Linked DNA regions of Homo sapiens: region 1 is linked to region 2. The links are contacts of gene promoters, found by promoter capture Hi-C in blood cells and fetal thymus (Javierre and others, 2016). All regions are on one chromosome and are shown on one strand. The core of a region is centred on a gene start or on the middle of the fragment in contact, and the rest is flanking DNA. Distances in the headings are between cores, read along the strand shown. Region 1 holds the start of ZNF616 (zinc finger protein 616). Region 2 holds the start of ZNF347 (zinc finger protein 347).

Region 1 (7,061 bases), core at 2,977-5,476, 1.0 Mb after region 2:
GAACTTAAAATAAAAGGGATCCTCCACATATTGGTGGAACACATTCTTTGCATCTGTTATTTTTCTATTCTTTTTTTGCCACACAAATCTGAGAATGTCACCTCGATTTTTGGATCCTTCAAGTTCTTCAATGGAAGAAATGTAAGTCCATAAATTGGGTTAAATGGTTTCTAGTGGAGTGTGTAATGATAAAAAATTATTTTTAAAATGTAGTTTTGGCTGGGCTCTGTGGCTCATGCCTGTATTCCTAGCACTTTGGGAGGCTGAGGTGGACAGATTGAGCCCAGAAGTTTGAGACCGGCCTAGGCAACATTATAAAACCCCATCTCTACTAAAAACACAAAAACTGAGGTGAGAGGATCACTTGAGCCTGGGGAGGTGGAGGCTGCATGAGCCGTGATTGCACCACCACACTGCAGCCTGGGCAAGAGAGCAAGATCCCATCTCAAAAAAAATTATATTACAGTTGAAAAATCATAGAATACAATGTTTAATATGATAACTCAAATATGCATTGTTAGAGCCTTTGAAAAATGCAATTTTATTAAATTATTTAATATTTATTGTCTGATAAATTTAATTTTTATAGTGCATGTGTAAAAATATTATAGACAATTTGAACAGTATTTCAGAAGCACTTTCAACAATTATATTGTGTAAAGTGTCCTATGTATGCATGAATAAAGGACATGTATAAAGTATTTAGCATGAGGAAAATTGAGTCTTTCTCAACCTAGGCATCATAAGTTTCAGGAGTAAACATTCAGTATTTTTTTTTGTATTTTTTAAAACCAGAACATTTATTGCATGACTAATCATAGACATTCTTAAGATGAACTGGATGCTGCAACAGCTGCCCTCTTGGGTTTAAGTATTGTTCCTTCATAGAATCCATGCCTGAATCTGTGGTATACAATTTTTAGGTGCCTCATTCCACCAGTTCCGGTGGTATTTTGTCTTTTAGCCTTGGCACTCCAGTTATACTTTCTCTTGCGCTTGGCAGCGTAGCCACATTTGCCACAGGTCGACTTCTGAAGGTGGTAGGCCTTAGAGCCACGGCGGCAACACAACGTGTGCGTCTTATTGCGACGCTTTCCAAACAATGACGTTCCCTTCGTCATCTGGCTTCTGCGGCCAAGACCAGAGAGACCGGAAGAGAAGGCACTTCCGCTATATCACGCTCAGAAGCTCAACATTCCGTGTTGAATTAGAGTCTGAGCCGAGATGGCATTACTGCACTACTGCTTGGGTGACCGGAGCCAGACACTGCCTCAAAAAAAAAAATTCTCCCAGGCTCAAGCAATTTCCAACCTCAGCCTTCCAACTAGCTTGGACTACTGGTGCACACCATTACCCTTGGCTAATTTTTGTATTTTTTGTAGAGATAGAGTTTTGTAATGTTGCCCAGGTTGCTCTTGAACTCCTGGGTTCAAGCAATCTGCCCACCTCAGCCTCTCTCAATGTGCTGGGATTACAGGCGTGAGCCACTGCACCCTGCCTTGTTCCTTTACTTGCTTAGTAAACTTGCTTTCACTTTACAGTGTGAACTCACCCCTAATTCTTTCTTGCATGAGATCCAAGAACCCTCCCTTTTGGTTGTAACTGCCCAACAGGTTCTCCTTCCCTGCTGCCTAGACAGAGCTGATTCATCAAGACAGGGGAATTGCAAGAGAGAGTTTAATTCATGTGGAGCTGGCTGTACAGGAACCTGAAATTTTTTTATTACTCACATGAGTCTCCCTGAAAACTCGGGGATCAGGGTTTTTAAGGATAATTTGATAGGTAGGTGTCAGTGAGTCGGGAGTGCTGATTGGTTGGGTAGGAGACGAAATCATAGAGATCTGAAGCTGTCATTTTGCACTGAGTCAGTTCCTGGGTGGGGTCACAAGACCAGATGAGCCAGTTTATGGATCTGGGTTGGTGTCAGGTGATCCATCAAGTGCAGGGAATGCAAAATATCTCAAGCACTGATCTTAGGTTTTATAATAGTAATGTTATCCCCAGGAACAATCTGGGAAGGGTGAGAATCTTGTAGCCTCCAGCTACATGACTCCTAAACCATCATCTCTCACCTTGTGCCTAATTTGTTAGTCTTACAAAGGCAGTCTAGTCCCCAAGCAGGAAGGGGGTTTGTTTTGGGAAAGGGCTGTTAATGTCTTTGTTTCAAACTATAAACTAAGTTCCTTCCAAAGTTAGTTCAGCCTATGCCCAGGAATGAACAAGAGCAGCTTGGAGGTTAAAAGCAAGATGGAGTTGATTAGGTCAGATCTCTTTCACTGTAATAATTTTCTCAGTTATAATTGTGCAATGGAAGTTTCAGGTTCTGGATCAGGACCCCTTTCTGGTAACACAAGGATGGTTATGAATGCATCCAGATATCCAAAAAGTTATCTCTGAAAGCCAGAGATTTCCTTTCCCTATGGGTTCTTCCCTTGCATGTCAACCCAAGGATTCACTGGGGACCTAGAATTGTGCAGGGCAGTTAGGAAGAGAGAGACAAAAGAGAGAAGAGGTGAAGTAGTTTTGAAGAAGAGAAAGAAGGTCCCATGCAGCCTCAGTTTTTTTTCCAACAAACTTTTCATGCTGGGAAATAGGATCCTGGTTTATTTGTGGGAGGGATTTTATAGGAGGGTGAGAAAAAAATGCCCTTTGAGGGTAGAGTCTGTGGAGCCCTAATTGGGGAAAAGGAGTCAGCCTGAAAGGACCAGGAGAAAGCAAAGAGATAAAGCAAATAAGCTATAAATCTTTCTTCATGGTCCAGAACATATAAAAAAAAATAGAGGAAGCAGATAAGCTGTAGGTCTCTTTTTCTTTATGGCCAAGGACATATGGCCTTTCTGTGGAAAGAACGTAAATAAGTCACAAACTTTCTGCTTTCATTTATCATCAAACGCCTCAGCTAACAGAAGAATGCAAGTTAGCTCCCTGCTACCTTGGCCTCCCAAAGTGTGGGGATTATAGGCGTTAGCCACTGCACCCAACCAAATCTCCTCTTCTCATGGCTCACTGCAGCCTTCACCTCCTGGGCTCAAATGATCCTCCTTCCTTACCCTTCCGAGTTGCTGGGCCCACACGTGCAGGCCACCATGTCCAGATAATTTAATTTTTTGTAGAGAGGTCTGGCTATGTTGCCCAGGATGATCTCAAATCCCTGGCCTCAAGCAATTCTGACACCTCAGCTTCCCAAGTAGCTGGGACTACAAGAGTGCATTACCAAGCCTGGCTACTTTTTGTATTTCTTGTAGAGATGGGGGTCTCACGATGCTGTCCAGGCTGGTTTTGAACTCTTGAGCTCAAGTGACCTGCCCACCTGGGCCTCCAAAACTGCTGGCCCATCTCAAAAGACTTAATCCATTTCAGTATCAACTCTCAAAAGTCTTAATCCATTCCTGTATCAGCTCTTAGGGCAGAATACCCCCTAAATATTATCTGAACCACACATGGGTGAGAATCAAGGTGTGATTCATCCTGAGGCAAAATTTCTGCCCAGCTGTGAATCTGTGAGGCCAGAGAAGTTATCTGCTTCCAAAATATAATGGTGATAAAGGCATAGGATACATCCCCCAGCCCTGGTAACCACCCTTCTAATCTGTTACTGTAAATTTGACGTTTGTACTTTGCACGTGTAAAAGCACAGGCAGTATTTGTCTTTCTGTGTCTAGCATATTTCGCTTGGCATAATGTCTTCCGGGTTCCTGGATCCAGCCACGGCTCCACATCAAATCCCCAGCGAGATCCTAGTTCCCTGACTATTGAGTAGCTTCAGCATCATCGGCAAGAGTGGATGGAGTCCACCAAGCTTGTAAAAATCGGTTTTGACTTAGTTCAACTTGTTAAGAAATCATCTTAGTTTCTAATATAAGTGGACCACAACTTTAAGCTTTAACCTTAAATTTTGAAACATTAACTTAAAATAGGCAGGCAGCAACGCTGCTTCACAGGACAAGAAGTAGTCAGAAAACCAAAGACATGCTGCCTGTGAACCAGAGTAAATAACAGGCTCTATTTCGGCCCCGCTTACCCCATGAAACCCCGCCCCATCCTCCGCCGCGGCTCCGTCCCGCCCCACCTAGCCACGCCCACTGCCGCTCCGGCCCGGCTCCACCCTCTCAGGGTCCCTCCCCGAGTCAGGCCCCTCTTTCCGACCCGCCCCTTGCTGGTCGCGGCTCGCCCAGGCCCCGCCCCCTGGCCTCCCAGTTTTTTCTCTCCGCTAGCAGTTTCCGTCACTCCCGGAAGCAGATTGCGCCAGGGAAAGGCCTTATCGCTGTGTGTGTGTTTCAGTCTACGTGGATTAAACATTACTTCGCTCCGTCTGCCTGGATTAAACGTGCACTTTGCAGTCCTCACTTCTCCGTACCAGTGATCTGGGGATCGCTACGGACCTTAAAATACCCATAGCCCCTTCGCCCCTGCAACAGGCACTTCTCCCCACGTAAGTCCGAGAATTGCTTCCCTGTCGGTTTAAAATCTCTCTCAGGCTGTTCCTTGCCCCCTGCCTTTCTGCCATGTAGATAACCATGTCGATAACCCCATTCAGGTCGTGTTCCTGCTTAAAACTCTCATTGACCCCTGCTTCGGCCCCGGGCGAAGTCAAGTCCTCCCTCGCGAGGTGGATTCCCACCAGTCGAGACCCCCGAGCTTCGCCCTTGTCGACGCCTGGAGGGGAGCGCCCGCTGCCCAGCTCCTGAAGGAGCCGCTTCTTCTCCCAGGTCCTGGGATTCTGCAGACCCTCCCTGTCCTGAGACACCGTCCCCCGCGCCACCTAGTGTCCTCCGCGCGCCACCTAGTGTCCTCCTCACGCCGGGTCCTTCCCCTCCCCAGGCTGCCCCTTCACAGCCACTGCTTTTCCTGACTCCGCGTTGCAGGAGGTCACCCGAGTCTGTCTTGTGACACCCACTGTCGTTCCTTCCCAAATTTTTACTCCACTGGAAAATGTGCTCTTCCGGGAGGTGGGCATCGTATTCCTCCCCTTTCCTCCTGAATGTGTGGGTGAGAGGGATCAGGAGAGGAAAAGAGGGGGAGCGACGGGACAGAAAGAAAAACTGGGGAGAAAAGAATGAGTACACGGCAAAATGGATGATAATTTAGGTACTGGCAAAGAGAGCAAGAGTGCAAGAGGACGCATGGAGAAAGTAGCACGGGGAGAAAAGCACATAAAGAAATTAGGGAAAAGGGAGAGCTTCAGGGAGCTGAAGGGCAGCAAAATAGAGAGGGGCGGCAAAGGAGGAGGCACTGCAGTCAGACGCGGGGGGCGGAAAAGGTAAGAGTCGGAGCCGCGGCTGACAGAGCCACGTGGTGCTGGGACTGAAGGAGAGGGGAGTGGGTAACAAAGGAGAGTAGAGGGAGAACCACAGCAAGGAGGAAGCCTAGGAAGTTGGGGGTGCTAGAGAGTGGGAACAAAGGAGATGTAACAGGGAAAAGGGAATTTAACAGGGAAGAGGGATTTTAACAGGGAGAGCAGACAGGGAGCTCAGATGGGGGAAAAGAGGCAGGAATACGTGGCGGCTGGGGACAATGGGAAAGTTTGGGGAGAAAGAGCAACAAGAGGTGAAATAAATTTCGAAGCATTGGGCAGAATAGACATAAAAGAGGGAATAAAGAAAGGGGAGAAAAACAGCAAAGGGAAAAAAGACGTGCAGAATGAGAGCGGGAAACACATAGTAGTGAAGAGAGTGGGCGAGGACCCCACCCAGATGAGCTGTGAGTTGATTGGATATGGATGGTGGTTTTAATGTATTGATTTGTGACTTTATACTCTAATTTAAAATTTGTTTCTTTAAATTGTACTCATGAGGATGAAAATTACCACTCTTTTCTACAAGGCTTGTGCATTTTGTATTTGTTTATATCAAAAGATATTTGGAATCCCTATTTAGCCACAGGGCAGTGACTTGATTCAGTCATTTTGTAACTCTTCTTTCCAGGGAGGGAGTAGAGGATGGAGGAGGAGAGAAATAGGCAAGAAATGACTGACTGTCACTACAAGATGTATCTTTGGTTTTTTGTTTGTTTTTTCTCTTTTTGAGACAGGGTCTCTGTCGCCCAGGCTGGAGTGCGGTAAAATTATATCGGCTCACTGCAGCCTCTCAGCTGCACTCCATCCTCCTCAGCCCCTGAAGGTGCTGGGATTACATGTGTGAACCACCTCTACAGGCCTACAATGTATGTCTTTGAAGGAGAGTTGAGAGTGTTGGTTTTTTGTTTTGTTAATGGATTTACTTTTTTCCTTGTAGTTGCTTTACAGTTAATTCATTGTTATTTTGGAAGCTTGATTTAAATTTTAGTTTATTCAGTTTCTTCTATAATTACTAACTTCTGAAATAAGATTTGATGTCATCCTGTAATCAGCTGATGTCATTAATTTCTCAATATTGCCTTTTTTTAACTTTTACCCCATAATTTATTAGATTTTTCAAAAACTTTCCAAACTGTTAAAGCGTCCAGTGCGGTAAACTCACCACGAAGTACATTAGATTCCTCAGAACTTCTTCATTTTATAACTGAGAATTTGTACCCTTTGACCAACATTTCTCCACTTTCCCCACCCAGCATCCTGTGGTAACAACTGTTCCGCCTTATTACTATGAATTGGACTTTTTTAGATTCTACTTGTGAGAACATACAGTAGTTGTCTTTGTGTGTCAGTCTTATATCGCCCAGCATAATGTCCTCCAGATTCATCCATGTTGTTGGAAATAGCAGGATTTTATTTATTTTTATTTTTATTTTTTATTTTTGAGACAGAGTCTCGCTCGCTCTGTCGCCCAGGCTAGAGTGCAGTGGTGTGATCTCGGCTCACTGCAAGCTCCGCCTCCCGGGTTCACACCATTCTCCTGCCTCAGCCTCTTGAGTAGCTGGGACTATAGGCACCCGCCACCACGCCCGGCTAATTTTTTGTATTTTTTTTTTAGTACAGACGGGGTTTCACTGTGTTAGCCAGGATGGTCTCAATCTCCTGACCTCATGATCCACCCGCCTCGGCCTCCCAAAGTGCTGGGATTACAGGCGTGAGCCACTGTGCCCGGCAGGATTTTCTTTTTTATGGTTGAATAATATTCCAT
Region 2 (6,728 bases), core at 3,178-5,677:
TTTTAAAATTAAATATAGTCTGAATTAGAGAGCACTTGGAAAGGGCAGAGGATGATGAACTATGATGTCACTCATCATCCTTATTGCACTGCAGGTGCCCTTCTTCTGACAGAAGAGCACTGTGGGTATGGGAAGAAATTCTCTACTGGCCGGGCACAGTGGCTCACGCCTGTAATGCCAGCACTTTGGGAGGCCAAGGTGGGTGGATCACCTGAGGTCGGGAGTTCGAGACCAGCCTGACCAACATGGAGAAACCCCATCTCTACTAAAAATACAAAATTAGCCAGGCATGGTGGCGCATGCCTGTAATCCCAGCTACTCAGGAGGCTGAGGCAGGAGACTCGCTTGAACCCGGGAGGCAGAGGTTGTGGTGAGCCGAGATCATGCCACTGCACTCCAGTCTGGGCAATAAGAGCGAAACTCTGACTCAAAAAAAGAAAGAAAGAAATTCTCTACCAGTAGACCATGAAATAGAGCCAGGAAGACACTCGGATTTTTATTAGAGGAGAGTAATAGCTTATTAGGGACTGATGTGTGGTACAAATAATGCAGAAAAGTGGAGGCTACCTTCTCCATCAAATGCCAATAGCTGTTGCATAGCAAAGATTGATTTTTTTTTTTTTTTTTGAGATGGAGTCTTGTTCTGTTGCCCAGGCTGGAGTGCAGTGATGCAATCTCAGCTCACCGCAACCTCCGCCTCCTGGGTTTTAGCGATTCTCCTGCCTCAGCCTCCCAAGTAGCTGGGATTACAGACATGCACCACCACGCCTGGCTAATGTTTGTATTTTTAGTAGAGATGGAGTTTCACTATGTTTGCCAGGCTGGTCTCGAACTCCTGACCTCATAATCCGCCCACCTTGGCCTGCCAAAGTGCTGGGATTACGGGCTGGAGCCACCGTGCCCGGCCGGCCGAGCATAAGAAGTTTAATCAAAGTAACCAGAATCCCATGTTTGTTACTAGGATTTACATTAACTGCTGGAATCACATTTTGCTACTATTTAAGAATGCATCATAGATTTAATGTTTTAACTAATAAAATTTGATGTATTTTATAAGTATGAATGAATCATTTCTTGCCAACATAGTTTTATCCTACCTCAGTAGCATACTTCATAACAGATAACAACACTGCACCATTAAGCTATCGAAGGATCTAGAACAATGATTTCCATTGTTGGATCAAACAACATATAATTTTCAGAAACTAAGTGTATTTTGGTTTTTTTGTTTGTTTGTTTGAGATGGAGTTTCATTCTGTCACCCAGGCTGGAGTGCAGTGGCGTGATCTCGGCTCACTGCAACCTCTGTCTCCCGGGTTCAAGCAATTCTCCTGCCTCAGCCTCCCAAGTAGCTGGGATTATAGGTGCCCGTTACCACACCCGGCTAGTTTTTGTATTTTTAGTAGAGACAGGGTTTCACTATGTTGGCCAGGCTGGTCTCGAACTCCTGACCTCAAGTGATCCACCTGCCTTGGCCCCCCCAAAGCTCTGGGATTACAGGTGTGAGCCACCATGCCCAGCCCAGAAACTAATTGTATTTTGTACTTGAATTATTCTCTCCACACTCTGCCTTGGGATACTTATGTGGTATAATGAAAATCCCACAGAAAGGATATTTCAGACTCTCACACCCTGAAGTCTGCATTGCTCTTCATGCATATGCACAGTATTATTATATTTTTGCATGTCTCTTTCTTGCATGCCAAATAACACCTATGGCATTTATCTTGATGTACCTGAAGTGAAAATACAAGTATAGTAAAAATATGACATATTAGGAAACAAAAAAACTGTGGGGAATATGGATAAAAACAACAACATCTCTTTTTTACCTTTGGAATGCTCAGTGGCAATTGGAAAAATTAATATATATAAATTTTCTTTTAAGAAAGAACATAACACATTCAGATTTTTTTTTTTCCTGGCAGATAAACGACAAAGTTTGTATGTTCACCCTCATAACATTTTGATCATTTGAACTTGTGACCTCTCTACTGGAACTGTATTGAACTTCACCTAAAGGTTGGTTGAGAAGTGTTATGAGACTGTTTATTACATAATGTGGGTTTCTGGGGAAAGCTGGGTAGACTTCCAAAGCTGGTCTAAAAATGGCTTGAGAGCCCAGATAAGCAACTTGCTTGGTGTGTTATGGTTGATAAGGTGTGGGGATGGGTTAGAGGAAGCTTTGTGTGGTTTGAACGTCCATCTAGTGACAAAGGAGGAAGCACTCAAGCATGACCAGTTTGACCAAATGGGCAGAACAGAAGTGCAGAGCTGTAAAAGCGTTAGTAGTACAACATCACAAAATGGAGACTGACGCTAGTACACTGAATTATTTACTCTGGAAAGTTCTGAATTCTTGGTTTGGGAAGACCCCAGTTTTCTTTTTTGTTTGTTTGTTTTGTTTTGTTTTTTGAGACGGAGGCTTGCTCTGTCACCGGGGCTGGAATGCAGTGGCGTGATCTCGGCTCACTGCAACCTCCACCTCCCAGGTTCAAGTGATTCTCCTGCCTCAGCCTCCCAAGTAGCTGGGACTACAGGCATGTGCCACCACGCCTGGCTAATTTTTGTATTTTTAGTAGAGACAGTTTCACCATGTTGGCCAGGCTGGTCTCGAACTCCTGACCTCAAGTGATCCACCCGCCTCTGCCTCCCAAAGTGCTGGGATTACAGGTGTGAGCCACCACGCCCTGCCCTAGTTTTCTTGATAGTAATATTCTACATTTATTCTTCCGCTGTACCCATAGGACTCATTAAAAATAACACAACTGTTGAAAATGTTTTTGAAATCCTGTTTAGTTATAATGCCTAAGATGTTTTTATACTAACTCAGTGAAAATCTGTGGAAAAGTTTCTTACATAATAAATATGATTAAGCAGTTTTACTGGAAGGGCATTTCTCCAAAGGCTATGGAAATGTTATTTTCAGTTTATGGTATTGAGCAATATATTTCATGGTTTATGTTCAATTGTAGTAAAATTACTTTTTATTTTTTAATATGATTTTCCCTTTTATTTTTTTCTTTCATATATTGTAACCCAGATGAAACGTTTAATATTTTGTTAAAGTGAAAACTATACGGTGTATATAAATAAGGGTGTTGTTTGGAGATAAAATTGTGTGACATGAAAATGTACATAAGACAATAGCAGGTATAAACTAGGTTCTCTATAAACATGAAAAAAGGGTATCCCTGTGAGTCTTTAGTTCAGTCAATGTACTGGGATGGTACGTTAGAAATACTGGAAAACTATTCTTTAGGCGAAAATAAATCCAATTGTCATGTGGTGACTATTTTCCACACTCTGTTATCCACATCTGATAGAACATTAAGAAACAGAAAACAAAAAAATAGACCCAATATAGATTACAATTTTAAAATAAAAAGTACTGTGTCAAGTTCCCTTCAGAATGCCCATAAAGTGAATTTGAAATTACATGATATTTAGAAATTATTGATTTAAGCATATTTTGATGCAAAGAAAGATTATGTCAAAGTTGTTTGTGGTTAAGTCATTTCAAGTGTGGAACGGAATAACGAATATAAGCAAAAATAATGCAGTTTATCTCTATTTTTTAAAAATTCACATGGTTTAAATCAGTAGTTGACTGGGCACAGTAGTTCACTCCTGTAATCCCAGCAATTTTGGAGGCCCAGGCAGGAGGATTGCTTGAGGTCAAGAGTTGGAGACCAGCCTGGGCCGAGACTCCCATCTTTACAAAAATATATGTTTTAAAGAACAATAAAGCAGCCCTTGGTGATCTAACTTATCGGCCTTAACCTTCCCATGAATTGAGCACAGGCTTGACTCTTCCACTGGGGAGAATGGGGATTTGAAATGTAAAGGAGGTTCTGTTGGGCTACTGCATTAAATTGCATATCCGTCCAGGTAGGATGCTGCATTTCCCATTCTACTTTGAATCATCCTCAGAGATAATTTCCAGACATTTTAGTTAAATTAAATACATTTTAATTGCAGGAATTGCTGGATCCAATCGCCGTGCCTCGTGGATCCTCCACTAAGATCCCAGTTCCCAGACCGAGATCCCCGATTCCCAGATCCCCGTTCCTGAGCTGCAGCAGACTCCCTAGCAGGACTGGGTCCAACCCGCCGGCAAACAATTTTAACATAAACCGTTTTCAACTTGGTAAGAGGAAATCATTTTGGTTTCTATCATAAGTGGTCCACGTAAGTCTATTCTTTCACCTTAAAACTGCTTCAAATTGGAACGGTGCTCCCGGGGACATAGTGAACACTCCAGCGTTTCTAAACCGGGAAAAATGAGACTGCGGGCTAGGCAGGCTGAGGGAAGCGCAGACCCCGCCCCAGCTCCGCCCCAGCGTTTCGTCCGCAGACCCCGCCTCTCCCCAGGCCCCGCCCCCAGAGTGCCCGGGCTCTTTTCCGCGCACGCGCAGTTTTCTGCAGTTCCGGAAGCGGATCGTGTTGGGTGCGGGTGACGCCGCCGAGCGTGAGTGTCCCTCAGTATGGATTAAACTTGCGAACCGCCGTGCCCCGTTTCCGCAGCCAGTTCCCGGGCTCGCTACAGACCTTTTTTTTTTTCTTTTTTTTTTTTTTTGGTGAGACGGAGATTTACTCTTGTTGTCCAGGCTGGAGTGCAATGGCGCGATTTCGGCTCACCGCATCCTCCGCCTCCCAGGTTCAAGCGATTCTCCTGCCTCAGCCTCCCGAGTAGCTGGGATTACAGGCATGTGCCACCACGCCCGGCTAATTTTGTATTTTTAGTAGAGACGGGGTTTCACCGTGTTGCCCAGGCTGATCTCGAACTCCTGACCTCAGGTAATCCGCCCGCCTCGGCCTCCCAAAGTGCTGGGGTTACAAGCGTGAGCCACTGCGCCCGGCAGCTACAGACCTTAAGATCCCCGCACCGCGCCCTCCACCCCAGCTGACTCGCGGTGTGGGTTCGGAGTCGCTTCTCTTTGGGTTGAAGTAGCTCTGAGGCTTCTCCCTGTCCCCGGCCTTTCGCGTCTTCCTCCCGCTTAAAACCCTTTCCTGACCCCTCCTCCCGCCCCGGGCTTTTTAAAGTCCTCGCCCGCGAGGTGGATTCCCGCCCTGGGTGCCTCCCAGCCTCGCCCTCGTCGGCCCCTGGAGCGCAGCTCCTCAGCCCCGGTACCGGCGAGGCCGCGTCCTCTGCCTGGTCCTGGCATCCTGCAGACCCCACCCCTCTTCTAAGGCGCCGTCGCCCCGCCACCTCCCTCCTCCTCGTGCCGGGCCCTGCTGCTCCCCAGGCCTCCCCTTCGCAGTCCCCGCTTCTCCTGAGCCCGCGCTGGGGAGGTGCCCGGGGCCTGTCCTGTGACACCCGGTGTTCTTGCCTGCCCAGCTCCAGCCCCTGGAAAATGCGCTCCTCCAAGATGCAGGCGTCTTAGTCCAAACCTTCCTGTGAATGTGTGGACCAAGGGGATTAGCAGGTAGAGAAAGGGGCAGAGACAGAGAGAGAAGTAGAAAAACTGAGAGGAAAGAGTGAGGGAAACCCGTAACCAGATGGCAAAGTAGAGGATGGGCGAGGGATTTGCAGATGGTAAGAGAAGGAGCTGAGAAGGCAGAAGGAGAAAAGCAACTGGGGAAATGTAGAGAAAAGCTCGATGTCCAGAGACATGAAGGACAGCAAGGTAGGGAGAGGGCCAGAAAGTGGGAGGCTCCTCAGACAGAGTCCGGGAGAGGAGGAGGGATTTGGAGCCAGGGCAGACAAGCAGCGTGGTGCTGGGACAGCAAGAGGGGACAGCCGGTGACGAGGAGAGCAGAAGGAGAACCACAGCAGGGGGAGGCCTGGGATCTGGGGGTGCCAGAGAGTGGGGCAAGAGGTGTAGAAGGGAAGAGGAGATTCAACAGAGGGAGCAGAGATGGGAGAAGAAAGAGGCAGAAATATATGGAGACTGGGGACAATGAAAAGACTGGGGAGAAAGAGGAATCAGAGTTGAAACAAGGCCCCAGAATGGGACAGAACAGGTGCAAGCGGAGGAAGAAGGGGAGAAATAGCAGGAGATGAGAGGGGCTCAGAACGACGCGCAAAGAACCAGGGGAAAAACACAGAAAATAAAAAATAAGCTAATGTGAGAATGAGAGCTATGTAGAGGATGAGGGAGGGAAACACACAGTATGGAAGCAAGAGAGGGACCCTGAGTCCAGGTGAGTGGTGCGTTGATTAGATGTGATGATGACATTGTGACATTGGTTTCTGGGTTTAAAATAATGCAACACATTTAAAATACGTTTACTTAAATTATGCAGTTGCAAATGAGAATGGAAGAAACTCCTTTATGTAAAATGCGTAACACGTGCATTTGACAATTATTAGTATTAGGGTATAGCTTCATTTGCAATCACTATTCAAACCAGAGGGCAGTGACTTCGCTCATTTAGTTTTGAGTCCACCCACTTCCCTTTTCCTGGAATAGGGTAGGGTGTGGGCGAGTGTATGAACTAAGAGGAAAAAATATTTTTCCTTTGATTTTCTTTCCTGTCACACTCAATACAACAGGGCACATTCTACACAGTGTCTCGCCTCCACTCACGAAAATGTGTGCGGATTTCTCCCACCAACAACCCGTTCTCTATCAGACACTAACTGAGTGTCGTATAGTTTAACTCAATTCTGAAACTCTCTACCTGGAGTTAGCATCAGATCCCACTGATTGAGGCTCAGTTCCACGAAATTGCCCCCGCATCAGGTGCCAGTTGTAAGTCTCCCGTTGGTACCTGAACTTCTG

The links. The method cuts DNA at HindIII sites, captures the fragments that hold promoters and counts their contacts. A CHiCAGO score of 5 or more calls a contact.
Region 1: a contact is called between the fragment with the promoter of ZNF616 here and the fragment with the promoter of ZNF347 in region 2, in 14 of 17 cell types (naive CD8 T cells, total CD4 T cells, total CD8 T cells and 11 more). The highest score is 17.6, in naive CD8 T cells.

What each region holds. Positions count from the first base shown.
Region 1 is chr19:52,137,103-52,144,163 of GRCh38, reverse strand. It overlaps ZNF616 (zinc finger protein 616), which reads left to right and starts at 4,226. Exons shown (of 4, transcript NM_178523.5): 1 at 4,226-4,432. It also overlaps the pseudogene RPL37P23. RefSeq lists silencers at 3,931-3,980, 3,991-4,270 and an enhancer at 4,391-4,630. The HindIII fragment of the contact is 2,387 bases long and covers 3,883-6,269 here.
Region 2 is chr19:53,156,752-53,163,479 of GRCh38, reverse strand. It overlaps ZNF347 (zinc finger protein 347), which reads left to right and starts at 4,427. Exons shown (of 5, transcript NM_032584.3): 1 at 4,427-4,471. ZNF665 (zinc finger protein 665) reads left to right here. Exons shown (of 4, transcript NM_024733.5): 4 at 1-1,056. RefSeq lists a silencer at 4,245-4,494 and an enhancer at 4,230-4,524. The HindIII fragment of the contact is 5,586 bases long and covers 2,186-6,728 here.